Regions from separate parts of the Homo sapiens genome. Here regions 2, 3 and 4 are each linked to region 1. The links are contacts of gene promoters, found by promoter capture Hi-C in blood cells and fetal thymus (Javierre and others, 2016). All regions are on one chromosome and are shown on one strand. Each heading gives the region's core, a stretch centred on a gene start or on the middle of the fragment in contact. The rest is flanking DNA. Distances are from core to core; before and after follow the strand shown. Region 1 holds the start of SNRPB2 (small nuclear ribonucleoprotein polypeptide B2). Region 2 overlaps SMIM26 (small integral membrane protein 26). Region 3 overlaps ZNF133 (zinc finger protein 133). Region 4 overlaps MGME1 (mitochondrial genome maintenance exonuclease 1).

Evidence for each region. Contacts are between HindIII fragments. The CHiCAGO score rates a contact against its expected background, and 5 or more counts as called.
Region 2: a fragment that was not itself captured here is called in contact with the fragment with the promoter of SNRPB2 in region 1 in 7 of 17 cell types (total CD8 T cells, non-activated CD4 T cells, fetal thymus and 4 more); the score reaches 8.7 in total CD8 T cells.
Region 3: a contact is called between a fragment that was not itself captured here and the fragment with the promoter of SNRPB2 in region 1, in 1 of 17 cell types (total CD4 T cells). The highest score is 5.3, in total CD4 T cells.
Region 4: a contact is called between a fragment that was not itself captured here and the fragment with the promoter of SNRPB2 in region 1, in 3 of 17 cell types (non-activated CD4 T cells, activated CD4 T cells and naive CD4 T cells). The highest score is 6.6, in non-activated CD4 T cells.

The regions. Positions count from the first base shown.
Region 1 is chr20:16,728,305-16,731,432 of GRCh38, reverse strand. It overlaps SNRPB2 (small nuclear ribonucleoprotein polypeptide B2), which reads right to left and starts at 1,407. Exons shown (of 7, transcript NM_003092.5): 1 at 1,269-1,407. RefSeq lists a silencer at 950-999 and enhancers at 1,150-1,269, 1,320-1,369, 1,428-2,296. The HindIII fragment of the contact is 9,448 bases long and covers 1-1,670 here.
Region 2 is chr20:18,569,450-18,572,577 of GRCh38, reverse strand. It overlaps SMIM26 (small integral membrane protein 26), which reads right to left. Exons shown (of 2, transcript NM_001348957.2): 2 at 3,018-3,128. Among named protein-coding and RNA genes, the nearest start is that of SMIM26, 3.6 kb to the right of the region's middle. The HindIII fragment of the contact is 2,280 bases long and covers 343-2,622 here.
Region 3 is chr20:18,292,290-18,295,417 of GRCh38, reverse strand. All of the region lies in intron 1 of ZNF133 (zinc finger protein 133), which reads right to left. It also overlaps the pseudogene RN7SKP74. Among named protein-coding and RNA genes, the nearest start is that of ZNF133, 5.3 kb to the right of the region's middle. The HindIII fragment of the contact is 9,924 bases long and covers 1-3,128 here.
Region 4 is chr20:17,972,342-17,975,469 of GRCh38, reverse strand. The region is part of intron 2 of MGME1 (mitochondrial genome maintenance exonuclease 1); the gene reads right to left. Among named protein-coding and RNA genes, the nearest start is that of MGME1, 4.9 kb to the right of the region's middle. The HindIII fragment of the contact is 5,566 bases long and covers 1-3,128 here.

The DNA of each region.
Region 1 (3,128 bases), core at 158-2,657:
AATTCAACACATTTATTTTTACACTTACGTTTCACTTATGACACGTGACATTTTCTTTCCACCTCCTCAATGAAATAATTTTAAAATGTAGATTTGAAGAAAAATGACCAAAGTAGCAAATGTACATCCAGTAAAAATCATAAGGTTAGACATTAATGAAGTTTGCCAACTACTTAATGGGTGCACTTACAAAGTCCTTCCATACCTATTAATTTGTATACAGCATCACCAAGCTGTCTGGACTCCAAGGTTATCTCTAACCGACTTGAAAGAAAGGAGCTCAATGACAGCAGTGTGGCATGACGATTAAACTCAGATTCCAGTATCAGCCAGATGTGAATTCAAATCCTATTTATGCTTCTTACTAGCTGTTTGCCTGAGGGAAGTTCCTTAACCTCTCAGGTCCTCATCAGTAAAATAAGAATGGTAACAGAACCTACCCAATAGAACTCAGAAGACTAAATGAATTCTAGCACAGTTCTGCATCAGCGGTAAACACTTAAGAGTAGCTATTATTAACAGCTATTACCAGGTAAGGAACTTGCCTAAGGTCACACAGCTAATAAGCATCAGGCCTGGAAATTCAGCCCTTGCTTTCTCCTCTACACTTGTCTTCCTCATATACCACACTATTGCATTTTTTACATGGTTTTTACTTGCAAATTGTGAACTTGGATGATTTCCTTGTGTGCCCCACATATTCCTTTATCTCACAGTATTTACAGAGCATCCACTGTATGTGAACTGCATTGGATGATTGACAAGGGAAGAGCCTACAAGCAGGGGCTGCACTTGTGCAGGTAACAGGTAAAACGTAACGCTTCTCAAAGCCTTGCGACCCCCTAAATCGAAATCTGGAGAAGGGGCAGGGGTCGCAAAGGAGACGACGAAAGGGAAGTGACTGAGGCAGAGGTCAAAGTGAAGGTAGGGGGACAAAGGGGAGGCTCTTGCAGGGTTTCATGCGAGGTTTGATCGTGGGCTGCGTTGTTACAGGGACACCCTGAATTACCCGCCACCACCAAAAGGGAGCCGCTGGAAGACACCTGAAAGCGCAGTGAACTGTCCACGCCTCGCACGAGCAGACTGACATTAACTATCCTTTACTTCGTACGCGCAAGCCTCCCGCCTCTCCAGACACAAGCACCTTCGCCCAAGGCCCCCTAACGAAGTCCAAGGGAGCTGCCACGCGATGCCCGGCCCCAGAGTCAGTCTCCTCACCCCCAAGCCTGCCCCTCCGAGATCCAAACCCGGGCCAAACGCGTACCCACCCCAGCTTCGCGCTTCGTCCGCTCCCAGCTGCAACAGGGGAGAAAAGGGCCGAGGAGCCAGGAAAACCGAAACAGCGAGGTAGAAGGCGCACGAACCCACCTAAGGCCTACGCCGACTACTGTAAGAACCAAAAGCAGGAAACGGAGCCAGGCACCGGAAGCAACGTAGCCACGCTCCTCAATCGAGCGCCGACAAGTCTAGAAGCCGAGCACAGAGCCGATCGATGCTTCCGGGTCTCTGGCAGCCAGGGCTGGCAATCTCTCTGCGCGTGCGTCTGCCCTGCGGGCAGGAGAAGAGTCCGGAAATGGAAATGGGGAAAGAGAAGGGGGTTGTGAGGACCATGCTGCGAGGGAATAGTGAAGGGGAGTGAATCATTTCCCCTACCACGACCTTGCGAAGCTTTACCCGGCGCAACAGTGCCTTCCACCTTTACAAATCCTATGTAATTTTACAGGCGCTGCCCCTCATGCTATGGGGCAGTTAGTCCTGGTTTCGCCCTTCTTTGGGCTCTAGCTACCCCGGTTTAAAATCACCTTTAGGATAGCCAGTTCCTCCTGCCTCCGAGTCTCCTCTGATTCATGGGGCTCTGCAGGAACTGTCCTCCAACACTGTGCTGATGAACTTGAATCTCAGAGGCTACTCAGTTTGAGGGCCCAGGGCAGACAGAACTGGTGTCTGCCCAATTCTCATCTCTCACCAGATAAGGCAACCATGCTGACTAGAACCCAGTCATCTGTAAGATCATCTGCCTCAATTCACTCGAAAAAATAATTCCCTACCACCCTTCCCACTCTTTTCTTCCAACAAAAGGTCTAGATTTTTCTAGGGTATTCTAAGGAGTTAGTATTTATGCCAAGCTGAATGGGAGTTCCCAAAGTGCATGCATTCATTCATCCATCCATTCATCAGATGTCTGTAAAGCATCACCTGGAATATGAAATGGTTGTTAAGAGTCAACTGGAACCTAATCTTGTACCCTCTGCTTAACTAATCTCTCTGACCTTCACTTTTTTCATCTGTAAAATAGGGATCCTAATAGTACCTCCTTCTAGTTGTTGTAAGCATTAAATGAGCTAAAATAAATGTAAAGTGATTGGCACATTGTCAGACACAATAAATGCTCAAAAATGTTATTTCTGAATTCTGGCTATAACTTGGTTCTACTGGTGAGGCAGGTAGCTGTCAAATAAGTTGGTTTTATCAGCTGGGAATTTTTATTTTTTAAAAACACCCAAAGTTGCAACAACTTGAAAATAATATAAGCTTTTTAAGGGTGGGGTTTTTGTCTGCTCTGTTCACTCAAGTACCCTTAGTAATGGGAAAAGTGACTGATAATTAATATGCATTGGATAATTCAATGAATGACATGGAAAACTAGGCAACAGTAAAACAAATATGCTTTGAACATGCACCTGAGTGTAGAGAATGTTAAGGGATCACAGAAAAGCATCGTTTTATTATATAGATCTAAAACTAGAAGAAATGGCTGAGTGTAGTAGCTCACACCTGTAATCCTAGCATTTGGGGAGGCTGAGACAGGAGGACTGGTTGAGTCCAGGAGTTCAAAATCATCCTGGGCAACATAGTGAGATCTCATCTCTAAAATAAATAAACCAATGAGAAGAAATGTCCTATCTCAGTCAAAGAATTATATCTTTAACAAATTAAAAGAGAATATAAACTTAATATAAACAATTTCTAAATAACAAAGGACAAGCTGTTTTGCATATTACTATGAGCATCTCAGCAATTAGTTCTGTTTGATAATAATGAGGATGGCTACACTACTGAGAATAAACTATACTCTGTATTGTATAAGGGGATCTAGCCAAGAGTTGATAACTGTTAAAAGAGAATAA
Region 2 (3,128 bases), core at 233-2,732, 1.8 Mb before region 1:
ATTTAAAAACAGAAAAGAGAAACTGGAAAGGTTTGTGTGGAAAATTATATTGTGAGGTTAGAGGATGTGGAAAGAATGAGAGAGAAACATCAAGAAAACAAAGCAAATGAAAAAAAGAGTGCAGTTAACTCCAGAAAGAAAAGTTATATGAGAAACAATTATAGCTCACTTACTTGGCTTATCAACAAACTATGTTTGCATAGTTAAAACAGGGTAAATATTAATTATTGATTCATCAAAAATATGCAATAGTTTTATTGGTTAGTCAGTTGGAAAGGAGGATCAAATCCTCATTAATAAATCCCATACATGATTGATAAATTAAAGATATTAGTAAAAGCTTATTATTTAGAAATGTGGACGTAAATACCAAAAAAAAAAAAAAAAAAACCTAATAGTTGAAAGCAAGGAGGGATAAAGCAGGAACTGTTTTTTTGGTTACAAACTTTTGATCATTATTTAATTTTTTAATGCATTTGTTGCTTTGTTAAAAATATAAAAATTAATTTCAAAAAAGTCATGCTGGCTAATACTGTAGAAACCAATTGGAGGGGACTCCAAGTAGAGACAAAGAGAGTAGGAAGTTGAGGCTACATAAGCAAAGAGGATGGAGGATTTAAGTAAGGTAGTGGTAAAGGGAATGGGAAGGTGGGAATGGAGTGGAATATTTGCAGTAGAAATGATGGGACCTGGTGGCTGGAGGAAGGAGAAGGAACAAGAAGAGGGAGAAGTCTAGAATGATAGGTTCCTAATTTGAGGAACTGAGTACTCTCTGAGAAAGAGAACGGAAGGAAGAGCAGCCTTGTGGGTGATGACAGCAATTTAAGTTATGGACAAAGCTGAGGTGGCTAGATATCCAAGTGGCAATGCTAGATGGACATGGATCTTGAGTTCAGGAGAACGCTGGGCTGAAATAAGAGAATAAATTAGATCTAGCAAAGAAACCCAGCCAAGTCCCAAGGAAAGCTAACCCAAATGTCCCCTTAAGCCCCACAAGTGTATGAATCCTGGGTAGACTGCCAGGTGAGAGTAGAAGTTCAGCTGTTTATCCTCGGTGTGCTCTATTAACAACTCTCACCTGCCAAGTGCCACAGCCCCTCAGCCCTTGCCCTTTGTTTCTCTGGAAGCCCTCATGTTAGGAAATGTCTTCCAAAACGTTCATGCTACTGTTCCCATTTCTCCCATACTTCTGATTCACTTGCTTCTCACCTTCCCCATCTACTGTCGTACACTGCTTCTCATTCATCAGTTTGATGCCAACCAAGATGGTCCACTGGAATACACAGCCAATTGGCACGAATCCATGCTTGACCTGATATCCCTTGGGAAGCTGAGTCTCTGCTACCAGCATCTGGAGCTGTTACTTGTGATTTTGGAATCCTTGTCACTAAGGCTGACTGCACCACAGCACTGCTCAGGCCACCCATAATGGTGGAACTGACACCAATGAGAAATCAAGATGAGGGTCTGAAGGTCATAGTACTGTAGAGGAACCCTGAAATGCCCAATTCCTGTCCTACCACACATCACATCTCTACTCACAGGGTCCCAACAGCTATGAACAGGAAAACACTACCTAAATGAGAAACAAATGCCACTTTATTCATAACTGAGGCAGTACTCTATAATCCATAGGCAGGGATCTGATAAAAACTGAACTGAGTCTCTCGCAAGGGTGGAAGCCAAAGACCAGGTTGAGGAGAGGCTGGTCAGACTTTGGCACTGCACATGGGAGGTAGTATCTTCTTGGGATATTTGTATTACTCCAGAAAGGTGAGAAAAGCAGCTGGTGTGCAATAAGAAAAGCAAGGCCAAGAGCCCAGGCAGGCTCAACAAGTGGCTGCCTGCATTCTGGTCCCAGTGTCAGGCCTTCTGAAGACAACATACTGCTTTTTTTTTTTTTTTTTGAGATGGAATCTCGCTGTCAACAGGCTGGAGTGCAGTGGTGCGATCTCAGCTCACTGCAACCTCCGCCTCCCAGATTCAAGCGATTCTCCTGCCTCAGCCTCCCAAGTAGCTGGGACTACAGGTGCGCGGTGCCATGCCCAGCTAATTTTTGTATTTTTAATAGAGACAGGGTTTCACCATGCTGGCCAAGACGGTCTCGATCTCTTGACCTTGTGATCCGCCCCTCGGCCTCCCAAAGTGCAGGGAGTACAGGCGTGAGCCACCGCTCCTGGCCCATACTCTCTGCTTTAATTCTGAGCTACCAATACACGTTTTTTATAAACACCCACTTTTGATTTAAGCTCACTTGTGTTTGTTGCCTGCAACCAAGAGACCACTGAGGAAACTGGTTCAGCATCAATCATGTCGTCCTGACTGCATTCCCAGCATTAGAATAGCACTGGCCACAGTTGGTGGGTAATCCACACTTGCTGAAGGAATGAGGGGTATGTGCACTGGTCCTAAAGAATAGGTCCAGTCTGTTTAATTCAGAAGTTACAATCAAATTTATATCATACTTACCCAGTACGCAGTAGTACCCAAAGGGCTACTGTGAATCCCAAAGTGAATATGGAGATTTGCTGAAACTAACCTTAAAGCGACCACTAAAGCTGTGCCTAATAGCAACATGAAAGAAATATAAATCTACATTAACTAGTTTCAGGAAATCAAGCTTATGGAAGCTCTATGTGAAATTTCACAGCAATCTTTCACTCATGCAAATACAGAGGAACACCTCTTGAAAATGCAGATAGTAGGCCGGGGACCGTGGCTCACACCTGTAATCCCAGCACTTTGGGAGGCTGAGGCAGGCGGATCACAAGGTCAGGAGATGGAGACCATCCTGGCTAACACGGTGAAACCCTGTCTCCACTGAAAACACAAAAAATTAGCCAGACATGGTGGCAGGCGCCTTTAGTCCCAGCTACTCGGGAGGCTGAGGCAGGAGAATGGCATGAACCTGGGAGGCGGAGCTTGCAGTGAGCCGAGATCGAGCCACTGCACTCCAGCCTGGGTGACACAGCAAGACTCCGTCTCAAAAAAAAAAAAAAAAAAGAAAACGCAGATAGTTTCCTTCAAGAAAATATTTATTGCATATTATTAGTGATTATGTTTTACAGCAAATTTAAATACATACACTTTTCACAAACCCAAAATGGGAATCAGGGCAACTATCAAAT
Region 3 (3,128 bases), core at 226-2,725, 1.6 Mb before region 1:
CCACATTGATCACCAGTGTTGATCCAGCTGATCTGGCTGGCTAGGTGGGTATCCTCTTCCTCCCTCATTGCTCCATGTGCATCCCTCCGGAAGCTGCACACTCAGTCAAGGAGGATGACCATCCCACATAGGGGAGGACCAGTCTTCGGTCAAGGGTATACGAGTAGCTGTGCTCCCCTGCTAGAACCTCCCAACAAGCTCTCAAAATAAGAAATAAGAAAGGCAAAGTCACCAAAAAACATCTTCTTAAAAGTCATGTAAGACTACTTTGCAGACCTTTATATAAATAAACGTGTAGACCTAGATGAAGTGAATAACTCTCAAAATTAACTCCAGATGGTCACAAGGAAATTCTATCAAACCTTCAAACCAGGTAGTCCTTATGCTCCAAATACTGTCCCAAAGCATTGAAAACTAAAGGGAAAAGTTCTCATTCATTTTATAAAGCAAGGATACCATGAGGACCTTAACTTGATGACAGTTCAAAAACAGAAAATTATAGACTAATTGTCACTTACAAATATTGAAGCAAAATTCGAATTAAAATGTTAGCAAAAAGACTCCAACATCGCAATAACAAAATATTTCACCATGGCAAAGAAAAATTTACCCAGGATTGCAAGACTGGTTCAATTTTAGGGGATCTTTTATTATAATACACCACAATAATAGATGTAAGGAGAAGTCATGATTGCCTCTCTACATGTAAGATACTCTTTACCAAAACTCAACACCCCTTCTTCAAAAAACAAAACAAAAACTCAAGAATATAGAATTGATGGATTTTTAAAACTTTTTATTTTGTAACAAATTTTAGACTTACAAGGAAGTTGCACAAATATCAATTCCCATACCTTCCACCCAGCTTTCTCTAATGTTAACATCTTAGAAAATGATAGTACAATCATCAAAAGCAGGAAATTAACATTGACACAATACTATAAACTACAGACTTTAATTAAATTTTGCCAGTTTTTCCACCAATGTACTTTTTCTGGTCCAGGATCCAACTGAGGTTTCCACATTGCCTTTAGTTGTCATGGATCTTTAACCTCCTCCAATCTGTGACAGATCCTCTGTCTTTTCTCATCTTTCACGAACTTGGCGCTTTTGAAGGGTATCCCTCAGTTTTGGTTTGTCCGATGTTTTTTCATGATTAGAACGAGTTTTTCACTTCTGGTTAGAATACCTCAGATGTGATGCTGTGTCCTTCAACATATCAATGAGTTCATGATATTGTTATGTCTTTTTACTGGCGATATTAACCTTGATCTTGATCACTTGGTTAAGGGGGTGTCTTCTGAGCTTCTCCATTGTAAAGTCACTACATTTCCCTTTATAATTAATAAATATCTTGAGGGAGATACTTTGAGATTATACAAATATCCTATTTCTCTTCAAACTTTCAGCCACTAATTTTAGCATATATCTGTGGAACCTATCTGCAATAGTTATTACTGTGCTGTTTACCAAATGACAAAGTTCTTTTTCCCCCTTTCATTCTAAATCCATTAATTAGAATTCTTCTGTCAAAGCTGTTCTGTCTCCCCATTTATTTGTATCCAGTTATTTACTTATATCAATATGGATTTATATCTTATCCTATGGGTTATAATACAATAGTATCACTGTTTATTTTGCTGTTAAAATTATTCCAGCTTTTTCCCCCTTTCATTCTAAATCCATTAATTAGAATTCCTCTGTCAGAGCTGTTCTGTCTCCCCATTTATTTATATTCAGTTATTTATTTATATCAGTATGGATTTATATCTTATCCTATGGGTTATAACACAATAGTATCACTGTTTATATTGCTGTTATAATTATTCCAGCTTTAAACATTGGGAGCTCTTCCATTTTGGCCTTGTTCCTGCTTTAACCAATAAATTTGACACAAGTGACACTGTGCCAGTTACAGGCTTAAGTCCTAAGAAGGCCAGACAGCTTTCACTCTTGGGAGCTCTAACGTACCACGTAACGAGTTCAATCCTGCTGGAAGCCCTTACACTACCTGGAGAGAGTGAGGCCTGCTGTCCCAGCTGACCCCAGCCTTCCAGCCAACCCACGAAAATATGTGATGGAACCCACGAAAATATGTCAAATGTGTGACGGAACCATCTTGCATGTTCCAACCCAAATGAGTCCCCAAATGACTGCAGCCATAGCAAGATGCATCACTCACATCTCAGCTGATCACATCCGCTTTGGGTAAACCCAAAGAACTGTGGGAGATTAAAACATAGTTGCTCTCCTAAGCCACTCAGTTTTAGAGTGGTTTGTTGTGTAGCAGTCAATAACCAGAACCCTTGCTGGTTATTGACATACTGCGCCCTCTCTCTTTCAGCTTACCTGATAACAGAAGCATCTTCCTGTCATCCATGGCACTTACTCAGTCCCATGACTACTTCTCTCTACCTTCCATATCAAACCAATTATCAAGGCAAATGGATTCCACCTCTGCCAACTCTCTCAATTCCTCCCCACCCCTACACCAGTTGGAGCACCAGGACAATGGCAAAAGCCTCCTGCCAGTCTCTGTAGACCATTTCCCAACATCCTAGTCTGCCTCATCCATTACTCCTATGGATTATGCCTTCATTTGGCAAGTATTTATTATGCTCCTACTGTGTGATAGGCACTATTTTAAACCCTGGGGATACAGAAGTGAACAAAGACAAAAATCTACCCTCACTGACATGAAAGTCTAGAGGAGAAAGATGGGCCAATTACATGAATAAATAAAATACACACTGTATCAGAAAGTGATGAGTGGCATGAAGAGAAATAAAGCAGGGAAGGAGAAAGGATAGTCACAGAAGTGGGGTGAGGTTTTAGAATTTTAGATAGGGTGATTTGGGAAGGCATCTCTGAGGTGACTGAGTAAAAATCTCAAGGATGTGAAGAGCCCAGGGAATAACTTTGAAAAGAACATCTAGGGCAAGAGAACAGTCAGTGCAAAGGCCCTGATGCAAGGAAGAATCAGGCTGGCATGGCCAAGGGACGGACAGTTCACTGTGGCTGGTGTGGAGTGACTGAGATAGTGTGGTACAGATGAAGGCCAAGAGTAAATGTAGGGACATCAGACCTAGCTTTGTAGGATACTGGTTTTGACTTTGGTTAGGATGAGA
Region 4 (3,128 bases), core at 371-2,870, 1.2 Mb before region 1:
TTCTCCTGCCTCAGCCTCCTGAGTAGCTGGGATTACAGGCGCCCGCCACCGTGCCTGGCTAATTTTTCTACTTTTAGTAGAGATGGGGTTTCACCATATTGGTGAGGCTGGTCTCGAACTCCTGACCTCGTGATCTGCCAGCCTTGGCCTCCCAAAGTGCTGAGACTACAGGCATGAGCCACCGTGCCCGGCCAAAAATTACATTAGTTATTTTTAAGTGACAACCCCTAAGACCAAATTTCAGCCTCTTGTGAAACCTAAGAATATACTTTGAAACCAACGGGATTATTAATAGGACGTTAGGTAATAAAATGAATTAAAATTAAGTACTTCTAGGAGAATTGGGCCAAAGTCAAAACTGAAGATCTGGCGGCTACAAGACCACATCCAGTTTATGGTACTATGTGTTTAAGTATCCAATGTAATAAGTTAACTGGCTGTGATAAAATAAAAAAAAATTAGAAATCTAGGGAACTGTGCTTCTGTTTGTAGTTCTTTTTAGACCAAAACTTAATTATGAACATAGGTGGGGGAATCCTTTTACTAACAGGATTAGTGACAAACAAGGAATGGAAAATAAGGCATGCGCAAATGAAAAGTTATGAATTTGATATTATGGAATCTGGAGGGGGAGGAAGAGGAAAATATGTGACATTCTTCTCCTGTATTTTTTTTTTAGTGCTGGAACAGCCTGAAAAATTCAGCTGTGTCTCAATTTTTTTCCCTCATACATTTTTCTATTCTAATATTTAATATTTAACATGTAATATTTTTCTAATTAGCTTTAGATTATTAGAATTCTGATTTATGGCTTGTAGGAGGACACATCTTCTTTCTTCCTAACATTTTATAACATGTGAATACTAGAGAAATTTCATTAGGACACATTAGGACACATTATTTTTCCTGTATGTTCATTTTCTGAGGTCAAAGCCTTACTTTTCGTCCCCAGGTTTCTCCGAAAGAACTGTAGTGTCTGGATTTGTTGGCGTATCCCAGGATCTAACTTGATTTTTGAACTCTCTCCTCATTTTCAGTGCTCGTTGGCCTCCAAGCGCTTGCATAGTAAGCCCCCTCCTCATACACATTTTAAAAAAGGGAACATGGCCGGGCATGGTGGCTTATGCCTATAATCCCAGCACTTTGGGCAGCCAAGGCAGGCGGATTACCTGAGGTCAGGAGTTCAAGACCAGCCTGGCCAACATGGTAAAACCCAGTCTCTACTCAAAATACAAAAATTAGCCAGGTGTGGTGGCGCATGCCTGTAATTCCAGCTACTCTGGAGGCTGAGGCAGGAGAATTGCTTGAACCCAGGAGGCAGAGGTTGCAGTGAGCCAAGATCATGCCACTGCACTCCAGCCTGGGTGACAGAGCAAGACAATCTCAAAAAAAAAAAAAAAAAAAAAAACACACAAAGAGACTCAACAAACACAAGAAATATATTCACTTGTTTCTTAGTAAGAGGAGAGAAAGAGGGGGGACTGTTATGCTAAGCAATGGCCTTGGAGCTTTCAAAACATTATTTAATTTTCAAACCCAACAACCCAGCAAAATAGGGATTGTAAGTTACCCCCATTTTAATGAATGAGGCCCTATCCCACCAGGCAGTGCTGTTAATTTGCCCCAAAGCAAAAAGCTGGACAGGCAGCCTGGCACCAGAATCTGTTTCCAATCTACCACACAGTAGAGCAAAGGAAGCAATCTTGGAAATCACCAATTAGATACTCAGAGAAACAGAGCAGGAAATACACGTGCTTGGAACATGCTTGCAGAGAGACCCACAGAAAAGGCGGAAAACAACTTTACATTTGTCAAGTTTTTTTTTTTTTGAGACAGGGTCTTACTTGTCACCCAGGATGGAGTGTACTGGCTCGATCATTGCTCACTGTAACCTTGAACACCTGGCCTTAAGCAATCCTCCTGTCTCAGCTTCCTCTACAGGCATGTGCCACCACGCCTGGCTAATTCAAAAAAATTTTTTTTTTGTAGAGATGCAATCTCTCTACGTTGCCTAGGCTGGTCTTAAACACCTGGCCTCAAGCAATCGTCCCACCTTGGTCTCCCAGAGTGCTGGGATTACAGGCATGAGCCACTGCACTCGGCCTTCAACTATTTTTTACAAAGATGGAAATGTCAATTCTTTTTTTTTCCAGGCTGGAGTGCAGTGGTATGATCTCGGCTCACTGCAATCTCCACCTCCCAGGTTCAAGCGATTCTCCTGCCTCAGCCTCCGTAGTAGCTGGGATTACAAGTGATCGCTGCGCCCGGCTAATTTTTTTGTATTTTTAGTAGAGATGGGGTTTCGCCATTTTGGCCAGGCTGGTTTTGAACTCCTGACCTCAAGTGATCCGCCTGCTTCGGCCTCCCAAAGTGCTAGGATTACAGGCATGAGCCACTATGCCCAGCTGGAAATGTCAATTCTATCATTAGCAAAAAATGGAATCCCTTCTGAAAAATTATTTGGAGAGTTAAATGAAATTCAACTTAGGAACTAAGTTATTCTACTCCAAATTTACTTGACTCAATTGGAATTATTAACACGTGAAAGACCTACAAGAAATTTATGACTGATGGAATTAAAGCCTAGGAAAAAGAAGTGTATAGCATTCATCTACACACTAGGTTAATGAAGCAGAAGACAAACATGTTAAAAACAGGAAGAAAAAAACTTAGCAAATGCCATGCCAATAGACCATACATTTCTCGCTGCAAACTTACCCCTGGCTAGGTTCTTCATATACACATGATCACAAACATGAAAACCTAGATTACAGGATCCTTTAGACACTAAGGCTCAGAACATTCAACATGATTCAATTTATAAAAATAAAAAATGATCCAAGAATATTCACTGCATGTAGCATCAAGTCTGCTTATTCACTCAAAGTAATGAAAGTGAAATGTTTTCAAGTCCTCGTATATGAAGTGCACTAAAAAAAACCTTCATGCATCTCCAGTATTCTCATGATGGAACTGGCAGGATGGCTAATACTTCAGGATTAAATCAGCGTAGCAAAAAAAAAAAAAAAAAAATTAAAACCTAAACCCCATCCCTTTGTGTGTATTTATACACAAAATATAAATCAGAATAAGTCAGACTTTCTCATTCCCACCAGTCTTCAAAAGAT